Regions from separate parts of the Homo sapiens genome. Here region 1 is linked to region 2. The links are contacts of gene promoters, found by promoter capture Hi-C in human tissues and cell types (Jung and others, 2019). All regions are on one chromosome and are shown on one strand. The core of a region is centred on a gene start or on the middle of the fragment in contact, and the rest is flanking DNA. Distances in the headings are between cores, read along the strand shown.

Region 1 (5,200 bases), core at 1,689-4,188, 440 kb before region 2:
CATATGTTCATCACAACACTATTCACAATAGCAAAGACAAGGAATCAACTCAGATGCCATAAACAATGGATTGGATAAAGAAAATATGGTACATATACTCCATGGAATACTATGCAGCCATAAAAAAGCATAAAATTATGTCTTTTGCAGCAATATGGATGCAGCTGGAGTCCATTATCCTAAGTGAACTAACAAAGACACAGAACACCAAATACCATATGTTCTCACTTATAAGTGTGAGCTAAACATTGAGTACACATGGACATAAAGGTGGGAATGATAGACACTGGAGACCACCAGATGGGGGAAGAGCAAGGGGTAGAAAATACCATATGGTCTCACTGATAAGTGTGAGCTAAACATTGAGTACACATGGACATAAAGGTGGGAATGACAGACACCGAAGACCAACAGATGGGGGAAGGGCAAGGGGTAGAAAATGACCTATGGGCACTATGTTCATTACCTGGGTCATGGATATATTTGTACTCCAAACCTCAGCATCACACAATGTACATTTGCAACAAACCTGCACATGTACCCCTGACTGTAAAATAAAAGTTAAAAAAATAGACAATTTTTGTTGCTGAAACACCATCAGAATAGCTTCTATTTATGCATGCAAAACACAGGCTCTTACTAAAATGGATATGAAATTTCAGATATTTTTAAATGTTTTGGAGATAGGTTTGGTTTTTAACAAAATGGACATGAATTAACTTTGCAACAAAAATAAAATTGTAGGAGGACTTTCTGTTTTCAGTATGGGAAAGAAGAAGCTTGGAAGTCATCACTTCCATCTTCACAGCAAGACAAAAGATGAAGGAACTGAAAATAACCATCTTTAGATCCATCAGATAATTGAAGTCACCAGGCGAAACAGTGCCCCTCACACTGGCAGACAGACAGGAAGATGCAGAGAATTACAACTTACCAGAGCAGAAGCCTGGGATCAGAAACCTTTGTAGGAACTGGTATTGGGGTTCATGAGGCTAGGAAAACTTAGAGGCTTGGTGTTGACAAGTTTGAGAGTTAAAAATTTCAGGGAGGGCAGACTTGGTGGAGGGGCAGCTTTTGTGAGTTTTTACCTCCAGGAGCCTTTACTAGGTTCTCACAATGAAAATAACTTCTCTCATGCTTTCAGCAAGAAGAGTAGAAAAGCAATAAATTTCAAATACACTCAGAGTATTTTGTTCTCAATGAGGCCCATCATCAAGAGAAGCTATTTTAGCAGACTATAACTGACTGGAGTTTCAAAAAGCCTAATCGACATGGCAGAAGGGAAATCCCCAACTCCAGTTCTGTCTGGTTTTTCTGTCATACATTAGGGAAGGGCGAGAGGGGAGGCAAACCTGATAAGCTTTGTGAAGGTCATAGACCCGGTGATAAGCTCACTGAAAGACTGAGACCTAATCATAAAAATATAGAAGACTTTCCCTGCCCCAACACCTTACTATCATATTAGTAAGGCTCCTGAACAATATCAGAATAATACAACCAAAGAACTGCATGTCTTAGAACTTATTTAAGAAGTTCCAGGCCGGGTGCGGTGGCTCACGCCTGTAATCCCAACACTTTGGGAGGCCGAGTTGGGCGGATCACGAGGTCAGGAGATCAAGACCATCCTGGCTACCACGGTGAAACCCTGTCTCTACTAAAAAAAAAAAACAAAAAATTAGCTGGGCTTGGTGGCAGGCGCCTGTAGTCCCAGCTACTCCAGAGGCTGAGGCAGCAGAATGGTGTCAACCCCGGAGGCAGAGCTTGCAGTGAGCCGAGATGGCACCATTGCACTCCAGCCAGCCTGGGCAACAGAGCGAGACTCTGTCTCAAAAAAAAAAAAAAAAGTTCCAAAAAATTCCAACAAGAGCAAAAGGGACAAAAGCAAGAACATCAGGATAAATTTTAGCTTCTGAAATCTACAGCTATAGTAAACATTGCACACAGCCCTAGCTCCAAGGCAGAAAAACATAAAACAATACACTGAGGTCTTATGTATCTCTATTCCTTTTACCCAGTGCATCATGTCTGGCTTTAAGAAACAACTAATTATAAGGCACACTGAAAGACCAAAAAATAACAGTCTGGAGAGCAGGACAATCACTGGAATCAGCTGTACATGTGTCACAGGTATTGGAATAATCAGACCCAGACTTTAAAACAACTATGATTAATACACTAAAGGCTCTAATGCAAAAAGAGGACAACATGCAAGAACAGAGGAGTAATGTAAGCGGAGAGATAAAAACTTTGAGAATTAAAAGGAAATGCTAGAAATCAAAAACACTGTACAGAAATAAAGAATTCCTTTTATAGGCTCATCAGTAGACTGGACTCAGCCAAAGAAAAAAATTAGTGAGCTTGAAGAAATGTTAATTAAAGCTTCCAAAACTGAAATGCAAAAATTTTAAAAAAGAATGAAAAAGAAAATAATATCCAAGAATTGTGGGACAATTCCAAAAGGTGTAATGTCCACAAAACAAATGAACTATTTGAAAGATGCAAAGAATAGGGGAAATTTGGGGACAGGTGTATATGATAACTCTTTGTACTTTCCATTGGACTTTTTTTTTGTAAGCCTAAAACTGTGGAAAATACCTACCAATTAAAAAAATTGAGGCAATAATTAGAAAATGTCAGATTTAAATAAATATAAGCTGCAAATGCAATGATTTATTGACTGACGTATTAGAAGTGAGAATCTGTATAATATTACTCTTAACCTAATATCTCAAGAAGACGATAAACAAGGACATAGAAGAGTCAATTCTACCATTAATATCAAATATTTAGTGGAAATATTTTCACATTTGTGTCCTAGAATCATGAATAAACATCCATTTCAACAATTTATAGGATATTTACACATGTAATTCATGTACCAGACTAGAAAGATAATTCCAATAAGTTGCTCAAGACATAAAGTTATAGGCTTTATTATTTAATTAAAATGTGAGAAAACTGGAAATTTATAACAAATGCTTAAACTTTCAAATTCCAATCACTTGGATTTTTTTAAACATGTATAATTCTTTTAAACAACTGGCTTAGAGAGGAAATATACAACTTCAAACTCATCAGATATTAATAAGGAGTATAGACAAATCTATACTTTGAGGAATATTCATAGTAATATTCACAGGCTTTTTGTTCCTTGTCTGGCCAACAAGCAAGATTTCTGAGAATACAATTACTATGTAAATGATTAGAAATATATTGAGCTATTTATAGAAATAGTTTTCAAGTAAGTATTAAAATATAACATTTTGGAATGGGGAAGAACAATGCGTGTTATCCATCTATTGTGGTAAAAATCTATTTATCTAGAAATTGTGGAGGAAAATATTAAAGTACTTCTCTGAAAATGAAATCAAGGCCCAGCTGGCTACATCCATTAAGACTAATTTGATTATGAGATGATACCAGTTGAAATTTCAGCACACATGTTGTTGTTACCTCCTTTCTCTTTTGCTAATGAACTGTTAACTAAATACTTTAGGAAACCTCAAATGGTCCTTTGCATACTTCAGCCTGTATGACAGTTGATAGTGGTGTGTGGGGAGCAGGGAACAACCAGCTAGAAGTAATAGCTCAGGTGCAGAAGTGGAGATTGCAGTGGGTTATTCGCTGGAGCCCAAAGACAAAAAGGAAGAAAAAGGTGGTAGAGAGTTCTCAGCTCATCCACATGCAATAGAAAGCCTAGGCTTTCTCAGAAAAATTGCAAGAAGCTTCCACTTCCACTACAACACTTCACCTCCACCACCTGCTCTCTTTTCAACACTGCCCATGACAAGCAATCAAAAACACTGGAAAGCAGAAGCAGGTCTGAGAGAGCAGCTCACATACATGGAGTAAAAATTGGCATAAAGGAAGAGGGAATGATTCATGAGACAGGACACAAAACAAAGAATGTTTGAAGTACACTAGAGACAAATAAGGTGGAAACGTAGCCTCATATAATGCTATACATAACCCTGGGATGTCCAATTTCTGTAGGGGTCTTGGTCAAAGCTGATCATCTTGCTGGACTCAGCACTAAGTTGACTGCTTCTGCCTGTCATGAGGGTTGCCTCAGTTCCAAATGTTTGGCATGTAAGGAAAGCACAGTTAAAGGGAGTTTCCATGGCCTAGTGCTGGGGGGACCAGCTCTACTCATAAGAAATGCAAAGACACCCTAGGGTAAAGGACTGAGGTTATGGAAAGAGTAGTGGGAAGTTGCAAAATCTCAAGAGCGAATAAGCTGGCATCTTGCCTTCCAGAGCCATTTTCCCTTTTTCTTTTTCTGTTTTCTTTGGGTCTAGTCCCAGTAAATCCTTTTGCCAGATAAAGCTCTGGAGTAGAGAAAGCAGCATTTCAGCAGCATTATTGAAAAATGCTCTTTCCTATGGCCAAAACTAAGACAGAAATGCCAAGACTTTTAGACTCAAAGAAGAACTGACTGGAAGCCAAACATGTGCTGGGTTCGCTTGGTAGGAGGGTTGGTGAAGGGAACAAAAGGAAAATTCACAAATAGAAAATGACACTAGACAAAAGGCCTTGCAAAGCAAAATTTGCAATATTAAGCATACTTTTCATTAGCCAGGAGAACCTTCAGAAAAGATAAGCTGCTTGGATTTTAGGCAAAAAAGATTAACATATTCCAGTTGGTGTTTCCCCTGAGGCTCAAGATGTCCTGTTTTCTTCTCTGCAACAGCTGTTCCCAACCACAAAGGCCCAGTGACTAAGAGAAGTGAAAACATAGAGCCTTCTTGTCAGAGTTCACTTGTGTCTTTGGCCTTTTCTAATTTTTTTGACCCACAGTGTACTTAGGATCCATTTGTAATTAGCCAGGCAAAGGGAATAAAAGGGCGCGCTTCAGAAACTGAGCCACTCTGATTAGCATGTCTTGATTGGGGCTTTGAAATACCCTCAGAGTGTCCCCAACTCATTTAAGGGATGGTTTAAATGCTTAGAGCAAAACCAATGAAAACCCACCTTAACTTTAAATAAAAACATGTACCTAACATCATTTTAATACTTGGGAAAGGGAAGAAAATCTGGTGGAATCAATAAGTACCTATACAATCTCATAGGTTGTAAAAGTTGTCATGTGATAAAACTAGTTTAGATTGGGGTAATTATTGAGAAGTACAGAAATAACTATGAGGGCATGGGAATAGAAACAAATATGATCTGTTGAGCCACAAATGAAATCAATTGTTTA
Region 2 (5,074 bases), core at 2,558-5,057:
CAAGTTCCTGAAACAGGAAGGAATTGTCCCTGTGAAAGCTCAGCTGGTTAGTTAACACAGGGTGAGAAAAGGAGAATTGAGGAACCCTGAATTTAAAAAAAGAAAGAAAGGAAATTCATATTATTATGAGCAAATGGATAACAGCAAGTGGATTTCTGAATGCTGCCTATCTGTAGGAATAAGTTTATTGTGCTTTGTTGTTATTGATGATTTTGTAAGGAAAATAATATTATAGTGCCAGAGGTACTCAGGAATTCCTCATGAATCTACAGACCAATAAAATAATTAAATAATCTGCTCCTTGTGTCTCTGAGTAATTAAACTAAAGGGTGCCAAAATATTTTATTTACCATTACACTTTGACAGAAGCAATCATCAGCATATAGCTTCCTGTATATAAACTGGCTTTGTGGTTCCTTTGGGAAGCAATAGATTTAAGTCGGTTTAGTGACTGTGTATTTACTACCTTGATCATAAGTAATGAACTCAATCCACTTAAAGTTTTACAACAGTAATTTGCATATTTGCCTTAAGATGGTAGTTTTTCTACTTCTATAAAGTTGACTGTTATTTGGACACTTTTATTTAACTCATTAAAATTTCTTTAAGATATCAACTTTGGCAGTATTTACGCAGAAAGGATAGTAAGTGTATAAGATATATATACACTATAAAAAGTGTACAATTTTTTCTGTTTCAAGGTAAAGTGTTTTAATAATGGCCACTGTCATTTATTAATTACTACAATTTATTAGGTATAACATGTCAGGCACTGGGGGAGATGCTTTTAACACATGCTCTCTACTTACAACAAACCTTGAAGATAGATACTATATAATTTTTTTTTTTTTTTTTTTTTTGAGAGGGAGTCTCTCTCTGTCACCCAGGCTGGAGTGCAGTGGCACCAGCTTGGCTCACTGCAACCTCCGCCTCCCAGGTTCAAGCGATTCTCCTGCCTCAGCCTCTCGAGTAGCTGGGACTACTGGCGCTTGCCACCACGCCCGGTTCATTTTTGTATTTTTAGTAGAGACAGGTTTCAACATTATGGCCAGGCTGGTCTCGAACTCCTGACCTCGTGATCCGCCCGCCTCGGCCTCCCAAAGTACTGGGATTACAGGTGTGAGCCACCGCGCCAGGCTGAAGGTAGGTACTATTACATCCATTATACAGAAGAGAAACAGAAGCCCACAGACTTTGCAACCCCCTCTGCGCCCCTCTACTATTAAGAAGGTGAGTCTTTCTGCAGTATTTCCTTTCTCTATCCCCACCAGCTATGGGTCTCTATCAGGTTGTTTGTTTCTGTTTTGTTTTGGTCACTTTTAACCACACTGTATGTATTTCACATTTATAAAATATAATTTTTCTTTTTTTTTTTTTTTTTTTTTTTTTTTTTTTTGAGACGGAGTCTCGCTCTGTCGCCCAGGCCGGACTGCGGACTGCAGTGGCGCAATCTCGGCTCACTGCAAGCTCCGCTTCCCGGGTTCACGCCATTCTCCTGCCTCAGCCTCCCGAGTAGCTGGGACTACAGGCGCCTGCCACCGCGCCCGGCTAATTTTTTGTATTTTTAGTAGAGACGGGGTTTCACCTTGTTAGCCAGGATGGTCTCGATCTCCTGACCTCATGATCCACCCGCCTCGGCCTCCCAAAGTGCTGGGATTACAGGCGTGAGCCACCGCGCCCGGCCATAATTTTTCTTTTTTTAAAAAATATCTGTGTAACACATTGTTCATTCAGGCAGTTCCGCAGAATTCCATGTGTCAGACATAATTAATACAATTGGGGAAATACTGAGTAAGCGTTTTCGGCCCACACTTTTGTTTGAACACAGTGCATTATACCCACTCGATTTTAGTTTAATTCCCGTGCTGTTTTACATTTCTGTAAACTCTTTGAGGGAGTTCTGGGCGCCCACTGTCTAGCTCAGAGTTCCAGGCTAAGGTAGGCACTAATGAATGCTGAATGAATTGGGTAGCCAGTTAATTGCTTTTTCCCCCCTAAAAAAAAAGTCTAAATTACTTGAATAAAAGTATTTGCGGATTTTTAAATAATACATTTAATGGCAGATCTCTGTCTCCAAAACGTGTGTCCTTCTAGCGACTGAGGGTGTGGGGTGGGGTGAGGGGTGACTAACCAGTCCCCCTGAGATGGGCCCAACCTTAGCAATATTATCCATCTACCTGGGATTCCCCTACACCTGAACAGCTCTTTGGGTCCGCGAGAGAACCAGCGGGGTGGGGCACCCAATGCCAGGAGTGCGCGCGGAGAGACACGCTGAAGTTCACAGGAGAGTATTTACCAGCAAACAAAGGGCGGCGCGGTTTGGGGTCCTAGGACCAGCTGCCGCCGTCTCGAGAAAACGCAAGGGCCGCGGTGACAAGTGGACATTCCGCACGCGACCAGACCGACACTCGATGGGCACCTCCCCGCGGCCCCGCCCGCAGGCTCCAGCTGCCCAGCTCGCAGCCGCCCACTGGCTCCGGAGGCTGCTTCAACCACTTGTCCCGCCGGCTTCTACCCCAAGAACTTTCCGTCCCTCTTGGGGTTGGGGACCGGCAGTGTGGAGGGGCGGGCAGGTGGGGGTCTCCAGGGAGCACCGTCACCGGACTTGGCGAGCTACCCTTCCCAAATGAAAGGTGGCCCGCTCCCAAGTCCATCCCATATCCTTAGAGAAGCTCTGGGAGCGAGGGCCAGGCGGCAGTGCGGAGCCTGGTTGAGCGAGATGAACAAAGGGAGCTAGCGAGCCGGGGAGGATGCTGCGCTCCCCTGCGCCCCACCCAGCCGGCTGCCAGGCGCTGCCAGGCGCGCAGGTAGCCCGGCCTTCCGCGCTGGCGGGGGGAGGTGTTGGACAGGGTACACAAAGACTCACTTCCGCCGGGGCAGGCGCCGGGACTCCCTCCTGGCCGCCCACAGCCTGTGCGCATTCCTGCATTCCTGCCGCCGCCCGGGACCCGAGTGCCCCGGAGGTGTCCAGGCGCGGTGCCAGGCGGGTACTGTGCAGGTAACCTTCGGAAGAACTAGGGCTGGATGGAGGCGGCGGCCGGGGAGAAACACGCCTTTTTAGGCAGCCGTGCTGCCCCGCACCGCCCCACGCAGCCCAAGTCTGCAGTCACTCTCCGCGACAAGCAGAAATCCGCGCGCAGCCAGGGAGCGCCCCGCCTGCGCTCGCCGGCGGGCCGAGCTGCCGGGCCGGGGGCGCGGGGAGGGGGCAGCCCAACTTCCCAGTGCCCGGCTCCCGCCAGCTAGGTGAGCCTGGAGCGGGAAGGATGAAAGGGATCGCGGAGAGGGAGGGGGCTCTGGGGCGAGCGGAGCTCGGGGGCGGGGCGCGGCGCAGCCTCGGTGCGTGGGCCGGGAACCGCCGCCTCTCCCCGGGGCTCGGGGCCGCGGTTCCTCTGGCCGCGGGAGCCGCCGCCGCGCTGCCCGAAACAATGAGGCGTGCAGCGCGGGGCTGAGCGTAGCCTCCCGCCGGCTTTGAGGCCGAGCCACCCGCTGTGCCCCGCCGCCCGCGCTTGCAGCTGCCGCCGGCGCGGAGCAGCGCTGGCCCCGGAGAGGTGATCCCGCAGGCCGCCTGGGACGGGAGCGCGGGGCAGCTCCGAGACCCCACGGTGGCAGGAGGAGGACTCGAGCCTGCGGCAGGACGACTCCCGCCGCGCACTCGCCTTCTGCAGCCCCCAAGTTCCGCGGCGTGAGTCGGGGACCCCGGCCAGGGTCCCAGCTCTAGCGGGCGCCAGCGTGAGTGTGGGAGCGCGTAGCGCGCGCACCCGAGCGGCTGCCGGGGAATAAAATGTGACACGCACGCCTTGGACTCCAGTGCCGCGCTGCCAGGGGGAGCACCGAGCACCACGGTGTCGTGCGCTTCGAGGCGCGGCGTGGGAAGAAGGCTGGTAAGGGAGGGCACTGGGTAAGGGTTGGCGACGCCTTTCTTGGTGGCGCTGCAGCCTCCGCGCTGCTGTGCGCGGAGTTACACTCCGTGTTTAGGAGCGAGACCCGTGTGTGGGGAATGTTGAAGGTGGTTTGGGGAAAAGCAGGAAATTCTGGAGAAGCGAACGGGAGGACGGCTTGCGCTTTGGGGACGGGCGGATACAGTTGTGCCCCTGTGGCTCAGTAAAGGTGATCTTTTATTTTGGCTCTTTTGGCTCTGGAAGGGAGTGAAGATTTTTGTCTTTCTTCAGCCAACCCCCGTACAAAACTGCACTTCTTAAAGGTTAAAGTGTGTTCTGTTCATTTCTGGTTCTCTGTGGCTATAATGTTTGGGGTAGTAGGGATCTTTAGAATCCTAAATACCCGAGTGTTAATTCTTATGTAGTTGGCAGGCGGCAAACTCCGCTTTTGGGTTTACTTTCCGCGGTGTTACGGAGTGGATATTTGATGCATTCTTTTGAGTAGGGAGTGTGACGTCCATCTCATTCGGATTTGCCGGTTCTGTGTTGGGGGACTGAGTGAAGTTAAACTCAATGGCTCCCGCAAGTGCTGCCTTCCAAAGAGCTGAATAGCTGTGTTTGGAGAAGCTGTGCTTTCCAGGAATTTAAATGAGACTTTTTGTGATTGCCTTCCAGGTCTCTCCTCCTAGTACCATATTTGTTTTGTCAGGCTGAACTTTCAAAGCTGTTTTGTAATCTGAGAAGCACTTTTGGGGGGAAAGTAATGCTTGGCTGGATTTTTGTGAACTTATTTTTATTGGACATGCGAAAAATTTGGCGAGAGGCAAACCATATTTGGTTGAAATCATTGTCTTTTGCACCACTGCCGTTCTGACCATAAAGGGGCATGCTGACCCTCCTCGCCGAGGACTGCCTGCTTGGGTGAGGGGGGTCTTTGGTGGGCTGGAAGCACATTTTGTATTTAGAGAACTTTCTGCACACTTGAAAAACCCCATGCTGGTTACTTTGATGCTTCCCTTTTTTGAAATTCTGATCAACATTTTTTGCCAACTTGAAATATAATTTATGACCAAGGAAGAATTCCAATAAAGTGAAGTGCTATATATATATGATGTATATGTATATACATACACATATGTATATATGTGTGTGTGTGTATGTATATATATATATATATATATATATATATGCGCTGC

The links. Contacts are between HindIII fragments. The study calls those that stand out against the background at their distance.
Region 1: a contact is called between a fragment that was not itself captured here and the fragment with the promoter of ST6GAL2 in region 2, in 1 of the 25 tissues and cell types used here (dorsolateral prefrontal cortex).

The regions. Positions count from the first base shown.
Region 1 is chr2:107,325,675-107,330,874 of GRCh38, reverse strand. All of the region lies in intron 1 of LINC01789 (long intergenic non-protein coding RNA 1789), which reads left to right. Among named protein-coding and RNA genes, the nearest start is that of LINC01789, 37 kb to the left of the region's middle. The HindIII fragment of the contact is 3,735 bases long and covers 1,071-4,805 here.
Region 2 is chr2:106,884,900-106,889,973 of GRCh38, reverse strand. It overlaps ST6GAL2 (ST6 beta-galactoside alpha-2,6-sialyltransferase 2), which reads left to right and starts at 3,807. Exons shown (of 6, transcript NM_001142351.2): 1 at 3,807-3,881. LOC124907864 (a long non-coding RNA gene) reads right to left here and starts at 3,441. Exons shown (of 2, transcript XR_007087169.1): 1 at 2,867-3,441. The HindIII fragment of the contact is 7,907 bases long and covers 1-5,074 here.